Linked DNA regions of Homo sapiens: region 1 is linked to region 2. Evidence: promoter capture Hi-C in 16 types of primary human blood cells and fetal thymus (Javierre and others, 2016). All regions are on one chromosome and are shown on one strand. The core of a region is centred on a gene start or on the middle of the fragment in contact, and the rest is flanking DNA. Distances in the headings are between cores, read along the strand shown. Region 1 overlaps KCNH6 (potassium voltage-gated channel subfamily H member 6). Region 2 holds the start of CYB561 (cytochrome b561).

Region 1 (6,282 bases), core at 460-2,959, 96 kb before region 2:
AGTTCTGGCTCCCAGGACCCAGGAGGCTGTAGCCCTTAGAGGGGAACTGGGGCCCCAGCTCATGGGGAGACCCTGGCAGGGTGAGGACTTTTAGCACTGGTTTCACTGCCCAGGGAGCTGCAGCCCAGTGGCCCCCCTGATGCCTTGGTGTGGAACCTCAGGGGGCTGGCTAGTCTCCATACACCCCTGGGGGTTGCATTTGAACCACAGAGCCCTCACTCTGCCTCTGAGGACACAGACCATCAGGACTGGGAGACTGGGGAGGAAGGAGGGCCAAGGCTCCAGCTCTGGGTCTAGAGAGGGAGCCCCTCTCCACTCATGGAGTGGGGTGGCGCTGGGGAGGCAGGATGGAGAGGACATGGGAGGGGTAGGAGGCTGGGCAGGGGCTACAGGCTGGTGGGGGTGGGGGCTGGCTTTGCTCACCTGACTGGTTGTCACTGAGAAAGAAACCTTGGTGGTCTTGGCTGCCAGGAGCCTGTCGGGGGGATGAGTGGAGACCCCCGGCTGCCTTATGGGAAGCAAGAGGGTGAAATAACAGGAACCAAAGCTGGGATGGGGCCTCTTTGTTCTTCCCTGCCCTGACCCCATGGTGCTGTCACAACTAGGTGAAAGAATGACAAGCAGCTGGGCACAGCAGCGATGCCCTGGACGACTTCCTGCAGGTGGCCCAGGCTGCAGAGACCACACCCCTCCTGTCCTGGTGCCCAGCTGCTGGGCATTCTGGCCACCTGATGGCTGGGGGCCGAGGGCAGAGTCCTAACCTGTCAGTCTCCTGTGCAGATCGCGGGAGGGAGGGGAGAAACTGAGGAGGGGGAGAGGGGATGGTGTGGGGAGGGCTGTCCACAGCCAGAAAGCCCACCCAGCTCTATGCTCAGGAAGCTGGGCACAGGGCCTACGCCAGCAGGGCCCTCCCCCAAGGTGGAGGGGCGGGGCACCAGGGAAGAAATAGCCCGGGCTCTGTGTTTCCCTGCCAGATGCACACTCCCTTCTTCCCATTAGTTTCCTCCTCCGTGATACCCCGCTCTGGGCATTCCCAGGTCGGTCCTGGCTGTCCCACTCCTTAGCAAGCTTGAGCTCCACATGGCTTCTCCTTTATACCTTCGTGACTTTGGCTGTTTTACTTTGTGGCTCTTTATTTTTCTTGAGTTGTCAAAATCTCCTCTACTGAGGGATGAGCATGAGAAGAGACAGCTTTGTCACCTCTTGGCAGCCCCTGTGTCTGGCACTGTGAGCCCTCTGGACAGAAGGCACCCCCTTTTTCAGCTTGGTATGATGTAGTAGGAATGCCTGGGCTTTGGAGTCAGACAAATTAAATTCACATTTTGGCTCTGCCGTTGACTAGCTGAATGGCTTTGGCCAATTTATTTATTGTCTCTAATCCTCAGTTTCCTCATCTGAAAATTGGGGATAATAATACCATTTGCAAGAAGATCATGTAAAAGAAGCCCCACCCTTAGCACCCTACTGCTTAATAAATAGTAGCTATCCTCATACTTAGCATGACGCCAGCCATGGTAGGCACAAAAGAAATTATGGCAAAGGTTGCAGGATGGGGTTGAAAGGAAGGGTGTTGGTCAGATGGGTGCCCTCAGGCCAGGCAGGCTGCCTGGGCATTTCCACCCACCCTGGCCCACCTGGCCCTGACTCACGTCCCGCAGGTTGAAGGTGACCTCCAGCTTACTCCAGAAGCTCTCCGCAAAGGCCGGGTACATGTCCAGCACCTCCAGCAGATCTGCCCGCTGGATCTTGTGCAGGTCGCAGTAGGTCAGAGCCCGCACGTCTGCACTGGACTTGCCTGGCTGGGCATGGAGGCTGACGGGTTCCCCAAAGATGTCATTCTTTCCTGCCAGCCAGAGGGGTGGGAGTCTCTTCAGGGTCTGACTCCATGCTCCCTTATGAGGGTCCTTTGACCGTGACCTCCCCCAACCTCGGACATCCTTCTAGGCCGGGGCCTGCTGCCTGGGATAGAGCTCTGGGGACATGGCTGGATGTGCTGGCTGTGGGTGGCAGGGTAGGGGTGGGGCTGTTCTCTTCCTGTGTCCTTTGAGCGGCACAGAGATCCGGCGTGTGGCTCCTCTCACTGTCTCCAGGCCCTTCAGAACCACCCTCCATCAGAATCTCCCTCCTGTAGCCCATACTCTTTGGCACAGTGGGCAGGAAGGGGCCCTAAAGGCTCAACATCTGTCTCAACGTCTTCCTGCTGCTTGGCCTGCCAGTGCTGTGGAGCAGGGTGCAGGGAACCCAGGGCCAGAGCACCTAACTCCGCCAGGGCAGGGCCAGAGGCTTCTCTGTCTTCCCACTCCCAATTGTGGGGCCAGGTAACCAGCATGGCCCTGGTGAAGGAAGCTTGGGGAAGTTACTCCCCCTGTCTAGACCCCAGAGTCTTCATCTCTAAAATGGATAAAACCTGATCTGCCTTGCCAACCCCACTGGACTGTTCAGGGAAGCAGATGAGGTGATGCTTGAGAAAGTGACTCAAAAAGCAACAGGCAGCAGGGCTCAGCGGCTCACGCCTGTAATCCCAGCACTTTGGGAGGCTGAGGGTAGTGGATTATTTGAGGTCGGTTCGAGACCAGTCTGGCCAACACGGTGAAACCGCATCTCTACTAAAAACAACAACAGCAAAAACAAAAATTAGCAGGGCATGGTGGCCTGTAATCCCAGCTACTCGGGAGGCTGAGGCAGAAGAATCACTTGAACCCGGGAGGCAGAGTTTGCAGGGAGCTGAGATCACACCACTGTACTCCAGCCTGGGTGACAGAGCGAGACTCCATCTCAAAAAAAAAAAAAAAAAAAAGCAAGAGGCACCTGACTAGGTCCATGCAAGGCAAGGGGGAATATCCCAGGGTAGACATGGGTGATGTTCAGGTATGTGGTATGTGGCAAGGGTACTGGGCCCTCCTGGTGCCAGGTGCTGTGCTGGCCAAAGGATATAAATATAAGATGTTGTGCCACCCACAAGGACCCTCCCAAATCCCTGCAAGATAGGTACGTAAGCAGCCAACAAGTTTACAGCATGATCTGTAGAGCCCTAGAAACAGGAAGAACCAAGAGTTATGGGGCCATGGAGGAGGGAGGGGCTCCTCCTGCCAGGGGTGGCTGGGGCAGAGAGGAGGGGGCTTACAGAGGAAGTGAAGTGGGGGCTGTGTCGAGAGAAACAAGGACCAGCCCCCATGAGAAAGGCAGTCAGGACAGAAGAAACAGCATGTGATCAGCACTGCACTGTCAGGGCTCAGGGGTGGAGAGCCCAGGGCCGGGGTGCCACGGAGCATGACTGCTTTGATTCCCACTCCCCCAGAAAGTCCACTTGTTAGTGCAAGTGGCAGTAACAGTTTAGCACAGAAGGATGGGTGGAGGCTGAGACATGTCCCCACAAGAGAACAGGATCAAAGGGTATTCACAAAGGAGGGGGCTGAGGCCTGGAGAGGGAAGCGGCTTGCCAGGGTCACACATGAAACCCTGAAGCTTGAAATCTGGGCAACATTATAATGTGATGGTTTTCCAGTAGATGAAAGATTCTGATCTAGTGTCTTTTTCTACTCAGGACAAAATGAGAGGTTTCATGTCTCTAACTGAAACTTAAATTGGATTAACTTCTTAATTATTAATAATAATAATCATCCCTCCCATGTGATGGCACTTTTTTTTTTTAAAGACAGAGTCTCGCTCTGCCACCCAGGCTGGAGTACAGTGGCGTGATCTTGGTTTACTGCAATTTCCACCTCCTGGGTTCAAGCAATTCTCTGCCTCAGCCTCCCAAGTAGCTGGGATTACAGGCACCCGCCACCATGCCGGGCTAATTTTTTGTATTTCTAGTAGGGATGGGGTTTCATCATCTTGGCCAGGTTGGTCTTGAACTCCTGACCTTGTGATCACCCACCTCGGCCTCCCAAAGTGCTGGGATTACAGGCATGAGCCACCGTGCCTGGCCATGGATGGCACGTCTAAGGTAGGCTGGGAGTGAGGGAAGGTCTCATACAGAAACCTGTGCCTAAGCCCAGCCTTGGAGGACAACTGGGATCTGCCGGACTGGCACAGGGTAGGGCGCTCCAGGCAGAATGGCAGCACATGCAAGGGCACAGATTTAGAGAACTCTAAGTAGTTTGGCTGGAGCATGAAGTACCAGGGGGAGGGTGGTAGGACAGGGTGGTCGGATTGGGATAACTGGGGATGCCATGCATGGACCATGGGGAACTGTGGAGGGATCTTGAGCAGAAGAGGCAGATGTACAGATGTCTATTTCAGGTCACTGGCAGAAGGTGGAAGACAGGCATGGGAGTAAACCAGACGCAGGGCCATGGGAAAGGAGTTCCCAACACCTTTCCAGGAAGGACCCAAAGAGGGCTGGATCCAGGCAGGGACAGGGAGACAGGTGTGAGATGGAGAGGTATGGACAAGTCTGGCTGGTGGACAGTGGGCAGGAATGAAGTAGGATGCCCCCTTGGCAGACTGTGGCGTGGGCAATAGGCAGATGCTTCACAGTGATGGGGATGCTGAAGCAGCTGGTTTTGAGGAAAGGTGATTTCAGGTTGGGATACATTGAGTTTGATCTGTTCATAGAATACTAGGGCGGCCATGCCCAGGAAGAAATGGAATATTCTGGTCTAAGGAGACAGTGGGGTGAGGACAGGGCTCCTTGTGGCACAGGTGAAGGCTGAAGCCGTGGGAGCGAGGAGCAGGCCCAGGGGAGGGTGTCAGGTGAGGAGGGGCGAGGAGAGCAGATCACCAGCAGTCCAGAGGAAGCAGAGGGGGAGGGCTGCCCGAGGGGAACCTGTCCAGAGGGGCTGGAGGATAGCCAGGTCATGGGTACCAAAGGAGGGCGAGGCTGAAGTTGGGGTGGAGATGAAGTCATGGGGCAGGCAAGGAAGATGAGAATCAAGAGGACCCTGTGATGCTCAGAGAGGCAAAGTGACTTGCCCAAGGTCACACAGCAGGTATGTGACAGAGGCTGCTTGTGACCTGTCTGTCCCCCCTGCCCAGTGCTCATGTCCTTCCTCCAAAGTGTCTAGCTATCCCTGTGTCTGCACTGAATGAGACTGGGGTCCCCAGCCAGGGCATCCACCTCCACCCAGAAAGACCCTTGGCCTTTCTCCCTAAACTCCCCAAGAGTGCAAGAAGGTAGGAAGACCTGCCTGGGCTTCTGAGTCACACTGGCAGCCCTGGAATCCCTGCCTGGCCACAGACTAGCATGATCTCCCTCAGCCTCAACTTCCCTCTCAGGAAAATGGGACCTCCGGCAGAGGGTTGTTTTAAGGATTCAGCCAGCTGGGTCTAAAGCTCTCCCGGGCACATGCTGTGCAAGTGGCTGCCAGTAAAAGTAAAATCCTCATCAGGAAGAGGGTGGCCTGGGCAGGGCATCTCCAATCCCGCCCTCTTCCATCCAATCCCCAACACAGGCCTGGTCCACTCCGCCGGACCCACCTAGGATGGCCACGACCACGTCGTCGCGCAGGATCTCGATGGAGCCTCGGGAGATGAAGTAGAGGGTGGAGAGCACGTCGCCGAGGTGCACCAGCGTGTCCCCAGGCGGCGCGTGGGTGGTCTTGAACTTGACGGCTAGCGCGCGCAGGCAGCCCTTGCCGGCGCCGCTGAAAGCTGGGCAGTGCTGCAGCAGTGCGCGGTGCAGGTGCAGGCAGATGTCAGCCTGCAGGCACTCGGGGAAGCCCTTCAGCACCTGCAAGGCGGGCGGCCAAGTCCAGCGGGACGCGGCCGGGGTGGGGCTGGGGGAGAGGGTGGTGAGGGCTCTGGGGACGCCCCGCCCCCGCAGGATCTTGGCTCCCCCCCACGCCCGGGGCATTAGCCGGAGCGGCGGGGCTCACCGCGTTCATGTCAATGCCATTGGTGTAGGACCAGGCGTGCTGGAAATACTCCTCCAGGCGCTGGCGCAGTGGGTTGGGGATCTGGTGGAAGCGGATGAACTCCTTGACACGCAGCATCTGCGTGTGGTAGCGCGCGGTGCCCGAGTACAGGCGCTGGATGATCGCGGACACGTTCCCGAAGATGCTGGCGTACATCAGGGCTGGGGGCGGGGCGGAGAGTGAGCTCCTCCGCGGCCCCACTGGGCCACACCACCAAGGGCTTACCCAGGTCTTCCTCCTTCCAGCAGCCCCCTGGTGAAGGACCCCTCTGTCCAGGGAGAAGTCAGGAGTGACCAGGACAGCGCCAGGGCACATGCGGGACAAAGGCCCCTGGGCTTTCTGCCCTCCTCCCTCTGTCCTGTGCCTCTTGGCATCTTACTGGGCCTAGCGGTCAAACTCCCGAGAAGAAAGAAGGAAGGCAATG
Region 2 (5,844 bases), core at 1,253-3,752:
TCCTAATCCCTGCCCCAGCTGCCCTCTGGATGGTCAGGGAAGGCCTGAGGAGGTGATGTTTGAGCTGAGATTTGAGAGAATGTGACCAGAGATGATCCAGGAAAGAACATTCCATGGAGAGGTGGGAGTGAACTTGGTGCATCTGAAAACAGAAAGGCTAGCGTGGTTCTGCGATGTGGGAAGGGAGTGGAAACATGGAAACACAGTCAGCATTTCCTTTTTTTTTTTTTTTTTTTTTTGAGACGGAGTTTTGCTCTTGTTGTCCAGGCTGGAGTGTAATGGCGCGGTCTTGGCTCACCACAACCTCTGCCTCCTGGGTTCAAGTGATTCTCTTGCCTCAGCCTCCGGAGTAGCTGGGATTACAGGCATGTGCCACCCCGCCCGGCTAATTTTGTATTTTTAGTAGAGATGGGGTTTCTCCACGTTGGTCAGGCTGGTCTCTAGCTCCCGATCTCAGGTGATCCGCCCGCCTCGGCCTCCCAAAGTGCTGGGATTACAGGCGTTAGCACAACTCAGGAGGCCCTGGAACTCATCTTGTGCCACTCAAGAAAGGGCAGGAGGGGTCCTCTCCTTTCCCACCTTTCCCAAGCTGAAGGACTGCACACTTCTCAGGCTTCCAAGGCAGGAGCTTCGGCAGCAGGAACAGGGTTGCAAGGTAGTTAGTCTGGGTGTCTGTCGTCCTGGGTTGGGACATCTGGGAGCTGGGGCAAGGCCTCTGGGCCCTAGTGCCAGAGAGCAGTTTGGTGGCGTTGCCTGTTCTTTAAAATGGGTTAGGTGTAGCCATGAGCCCCCCCATGCAGCGGGTGTGCAGGCCTCTCCCTCAGTCAGAACACCCTCACCCACCCCTCCCCACTTGAAGCAGGCCCTTGAGAACACTGCTGGCAGGGAGGCGGCTGCTCTTCCTCCTAAGGGAAAAGCCTGCAGCCCCGTGCTGCTGGGCCGTGGGGTGAGGGGGAAGCCAAAGGGCCCCTATCACCCCTCAGCAGGAGTCTCTCCTGGCTTTGGAAGGGGCTGAAGGCCCGGGGCTCTCACGAGGGAACTCAGCCCTGCTCAGCCGGTCAGGACTCCTCCTCCACGTCTAAATCCACAGACCAAACAAAGGACATGGCTCAGTTCCACCTTCAATCCACAGGGATTCTGCCTGTTAGCACGCTAAGGAAACTGTTTCTTACTTTAAATTATCCATTAATTTCCTCCAACTGAAAGATACTCTACAAATTTTCTGTTGTTGGAGGGTTTAAGCTTGGTCCCTCTGAGGGGGTGGGCCCTGCTGTGTCGGCCCCTTGTGTCTGCTCGTGGAAGGTGTGCCATGTGCCACCGTGTGCCATATGCAGCTGACACGCCTGTGCGTCTCGCCTGGCGCTGGAGACTGCTCTCTGTGTACTAAGCGAGTACTGGATCCCCAGGGCCTATCTTGCCCACTGCCTGTGGCAATACACAGGCAATACACAAAGCGCATTCAAGTAAGCAGGTCTCCCTGCCCCCCGGCCTCCCAGAACCTCGGTGCCTGGAGGGCAGGTGGGGGAGGGCGTTCCTGAATGGAGGCCGGTTTCCCTCTGCGGGGAGGAAACCCCATTTCCCTCCTACCCCTAGGCGCTTGCTACATCTGGCCCGGCATCAGACAGGAAAGAACCCTTTCTTCCCAGCTTGTAGGAAGTCTGAGCTGGGCCCCTTATCTACCCACAGCACTTCCTGGACCGGGGGCCTGGACCGGGCTCCGAAGGGGCTGGCTCCCGGTCTTGGTCTTGGCCTCGGCGCCCTCGTTTCTCTGCGCTTTGGGCAGGGGAAGCTGCGGACGGCAAGCTCTCGGCTTTCGTGAGAGCCTGGTGGAATCGGTGTTCCCCGAAGGCTACTCTGCGGGGGCGGGGGCTAGTCCGGGCCTTCCCGGCAGTATCGTCTCCCCCGTGGGGGCTGGGGAGGTGCCCCCAGGGCTCCCGGAGCGGCGGCGTGGCCAAGGCCCGAACCGGGTCTGACATCTAGTGGCCTCCTGGGCCCGGGCAGGGCGAGGGCGGGGCAGGGAAGAAGGTGGAGGGCAGAATGGGAGGCGTGGAGCGAGAAAATCAGGAAGCGCGGGACCAAGCCGGGGAAGGGCGGCGGGTCTCGCCCCTGGCACCCGCTCTCCTCGGGGCCCGTCCCATCCCCCAGGCCTGGCCGACCCCAGGTCCTTCCGTGCGCAGTCGGGGCTCGCAAGGACGAATCCCGCGGCCCTCGAGGCAGGCCCGGGGGAGCTCCCGGCCCTCCACCCCCGCAGGCCGCAGATCCCACGCACCCCCGATCATGGGGGCCCCGGAGGGAGGTCGCGAGGCCGGGCTCACGGTGGCCGCGGTTCGCCCACGTGCGGGCCCGGAGCTGGCAGGGCCCGGTCCCGAGCGTGGCCGCAACCGCGGGGACCTGGCACGTGCGGGGCAGCCCCGGGGGCCGCGTACGCCACTTCCGGTCCCGGAGACACCGCCCAGCCCGCCGCCCGGTTGCCATGGCGACGCCGTCGCGCCACGGCCCGCAGAACCGGCCAAGCGACCCGGGCGCGGCGCGGGGAGGCTGAAGGGACGCTCGGGTAGGCAAGGTAGGAGGCCGGGCTGGGGGTGGGAGCGGAGCGCGCAGGGGTGCGGGGCGGGGGCGGCCCAGGTGAGCCCTGACTGCGCAGGGAGGGACAGCGCGGGGCTCCCGAGTAGCAGCCGGCCTCGCACCTGCCCCTTGCGGCCGCGCACTGGACTGCGGCGCCGACCCGCACCCTGGGCCCGAGGGCTGCAGGGCTCGCCCGCCCTCTCGGAGCCGAGCCTCTCCCGGTCCAGGCGGCCCCTGCCCTGGCCTGCCCGGGTGCCGGGTCTCTGCTGAAGTTAGAACCGAGACCCCCGCTTGCTGGTGACCCCGAGTTTGGATCTTTGCTCCTGCGCCGCGTTCTAGAGCAAGGTAGGGTGCAAATGGACCAACCAGCCTTTGCCACGGCTGCCCTCTTGAAATCTGAAACCGGAGCCACCGCCTCTTGCCCCGAGCAGGGCCCGGGCTGCAACGTGGAGCCGCAGGTCCCCGCCTGTGTCTCCCGACGCCCCCAGCTTCTGAGCGCGAGGGTGGGAGTTTCCCGAGTGGGAAAGCCCCATGGCTTCGGTGGCCTCGGTGGCCCTGTGGTGGGTCAGGCCGGTGCCAACTGCGCTGAGGGCGGAGCTGCCGCCACCTTGACACCTGGGAGATGGCAGGGCCACCCTCCCTCCCTCCCTCCCTGCCCTGTCCCCGACTGTATCACGGAGCGAGGATCATCCGTGTGGATCTGGGGTCCCCTTCCCAGACTTCTCCTTTCTGGTCGTCCTCCTCTCATTCATTCCACCTTGGCAGCCTTTGTGGATTTTCTGACTCCGTAAATGAAGTTACATCTAGGGCGCCTAGATTCTGCCCCTTTGGTTTAATAGCTAATGAAAAAAAAAAAAAAAAAGCTTTGCCACCTCCTCTAGGTGCCTGGATTTCTCCCGGTGAAATTTGATGGAGGCAGGAAAATACGAGGCGGTGGCAGCCCCACCTCCTTGCATGAGGGAGCCTCCTAGAGCTGGAGGTGGAACCACCCTGCTTGTCCCACTCCTTTTCTTTCTTGCTTTATTGCTTTCTTGCTTTCCTTACTTTCCTTCCTTCTTTTTTTTTTGAGATGGAGTCTTGCTCTGTTGCCAGGAGGCTGGAGTGCAGAGGGCAATATCAGCTCACTGCAACCTCCATCTTCCGGGTTCAAGCGATTCTCCTGTTCCAGCCTCCCTAGTAGCTGGGATTACAGGTGTGTGCCACAACACGCAGCTAATTTTTGCATTTTTAGGAGAGACGGGGTTTCACCATGTTGGCCAGGCTGGTCTCGAACTCCTAACCTCAAGTGATCTGCCCGCCTTGGCATCCCAAAGTGCTAGGATTACAGACGTGAGCCACCGTGCCCAGCCTTGTCCTACTACTTTTCTGCCCTCACCACTTTTCCTTGGCAGGCAGAGCTTGGGCTCCTGCTAATACTGGGATGGTTCAGTGGCATTAGATGGCATTGGTGGAGGGGAATGAGAAATTAACCCCCTCTGAAAGCGTAGCTTCACTGGGAAAAAGCACTCTACTGTCTGAACAATTCATAAATGAATTTTGGGAATATACAATGTCACAGATTAAAAGCAGACCATCCTGTGTTCTTCCAGCCCCAGGAGCTTCTGCTTGGTGTGCAGGGGCTAATGGTGGACAGCAATGGAGTGTAGATTTATTAGAGACGGCTGCCATCTGGCTCTCTGTGGCCCCAAACCTCATGTGTCAGCAGTGTGACTCTTTCTAAGGTGCTCTTAGGACCAGATTTCGTTTTTGTAAGATTGGTCTTTGATGGAATGCCTACTTTGTGGCAGGCACTGTGCTGGGCGCTGGCACACCTTTATCCACTTACTCCTTCTGTGTTCAATAAGGTAGCTCCAGATATCCTCCACTTTATAGATTAGGAAGCAGGCTTGGAGAAGGGACTTGGCTTGTCCAGGAGCTGATGGTTATAAATAATGAGTCTGTTTTGAAATCACATCTCTCTAACCTGGGCTGCGCTGGGCCTTTCATGGGCCGTTGGCCCTCTGGCCTTCACGGGCCCCGTCTTCCATAAAAAAAATAATAACAATTGGCCCGGCGCAGTGGTGAAAGCGCGTCTCTACAAAAGATACAAAAAATTAGCCAGGCATCGTGGAGCACGCCTGTAATCCCAGACTCGGGGAGTCTGAGGCAGGAGAATTGCTTGGACCCGGAAGGCAGAGGTTGCGGTGACCCGAGATCTTGCCATTGCACTCCAGCCTCAAAAAAAAAAAAATTAATAAAAATTATATTTTACAACTGCATTGGTATAAATACAAGTATAGTCCAGACTGGATTACAATTAATTTTAAAAACAAAACATTTTAGGGCTGGCTCATGTCTGTCTGTAATCCCAGAGCTTTGGGAGGCTGGGGCAGGAGGACTGCTTGAGACCAGGAGTTTGAGACTAGCCTGCACAACATAGTGAGACCCTATCTCTCCAAAAAAAGAAAAAATTAACTGGGCATTTCAGCATAGCTGTAGTTCCAGCTACTTGAGAGGCTGAGGTGGGAGGATCCCTCGAGCCCAGGAGTTCGAGGCTGCTGTGAGCTATGATCATGCCATCGTATTCCAGCCTGGGTGACAGAGGTAGACACTGTTAACAACAACAACAAAAAAATTAATTAAAATAAGTTTTAAAAAATTGCAACATTTTCCTCAACCCTAAATGTTCATTTTTTTCTTCTGATTTTCATGGAAATGGAAACATTTTGGTTTGTAAGCATTGGGAGCCCTCTGTCTTGTGGGAGAAAGGAGCTCAGTGTTTGACTTCAGGCTCTGCTGCTTCCTGGGTACCTAGTTCCTTGGTACCTGGTCCAAGCAGCCTGGATACCCCGGGTCCCTGGGCTGCCTGGGCCAGGACAGCCGCCCTAGGATAAATGGAAATGCAGCCCCTGCGGCTTGTTCACCCTCCTGTAATGCCTTCTCTCTTACCCTTTGGTCAGGGCCTGGTGTCTCTGCATGCACCAGGGCTTAGTGCCATGCTGGTACAAGCGTGGGGAGGATGCAGGAGGACTGGCATGGGATGGGGAGCACTGCCTGGGAAGCCCCTTCTTCCTGGGGCTACTGGGGTGCTAAGAAAGTACCCTAATAGCTCACACCACACTTTGCTTTCTCCTTCATCACATGCTAGGACGCTCTAGGGCAATTGAGCTGTTTTCCCCTTCACCCATCAAGAAGAGATATCGGCCTTTCCGCAGTCACAGTCTTTCCTAACTCAATTCAAACTCTGCTGTTGATAAGGAGGGCTGTAGCCAGCCCAGGCTGCCCGCTTCCCAGCCTCCC

Evidence for each region. The method cuts DNA at HindIII sites, captures the fragments that hold promoters and counts their contacts. A CHiCAGO score of 5 or more calls a contact.
Region 1: a fragment that was not itself captured here is called in contact with the fragment with the promoter of CYB561 in region 2 in 2 of 17 cell types (M0 macrophages and M1 macrophages); the score reaches 6.1 in M0 macrophages.

Annotation. Positions count from the first base shown.
Region 1 is chr17:63,537,802-63,544,083 of GRCh38, reverse strand. It overlaps KCNH6 (potassium voltage-gated channel subfamily H member 6), which reads right to left. Exons shown (of 13, transcript NM_001278919.2): 7 at 5,820-6,019; 8 at 5,422-5,674; 9 at 1,650-1,843; 10 at 424-508. Among named protein-coding and RNA genes, the nearest start is that of DCAF7, 9.5 kb to the left of the region's middle. The HindIII fragment of the contact is 1,278 bases long and covers 1,071-2,348 here.
Region 2 is chr17:63,442,964-63,448,807 of GRCh38, reverse strand. CYB561 (cytochrome b561) reads left to right here and starts at 2,502. Exons shown (of 6, transcript NM_001915.4): 1 at 2,502-2,563. RefSeq lists enhancers at 290-1,102, 1,606-1,745, 1,103-1,916 and silencers at 1,886-2,075, 2,246-2,805. The HindIII fragment of the contact is 2,186 bases long and covers 1,245-3,430 here.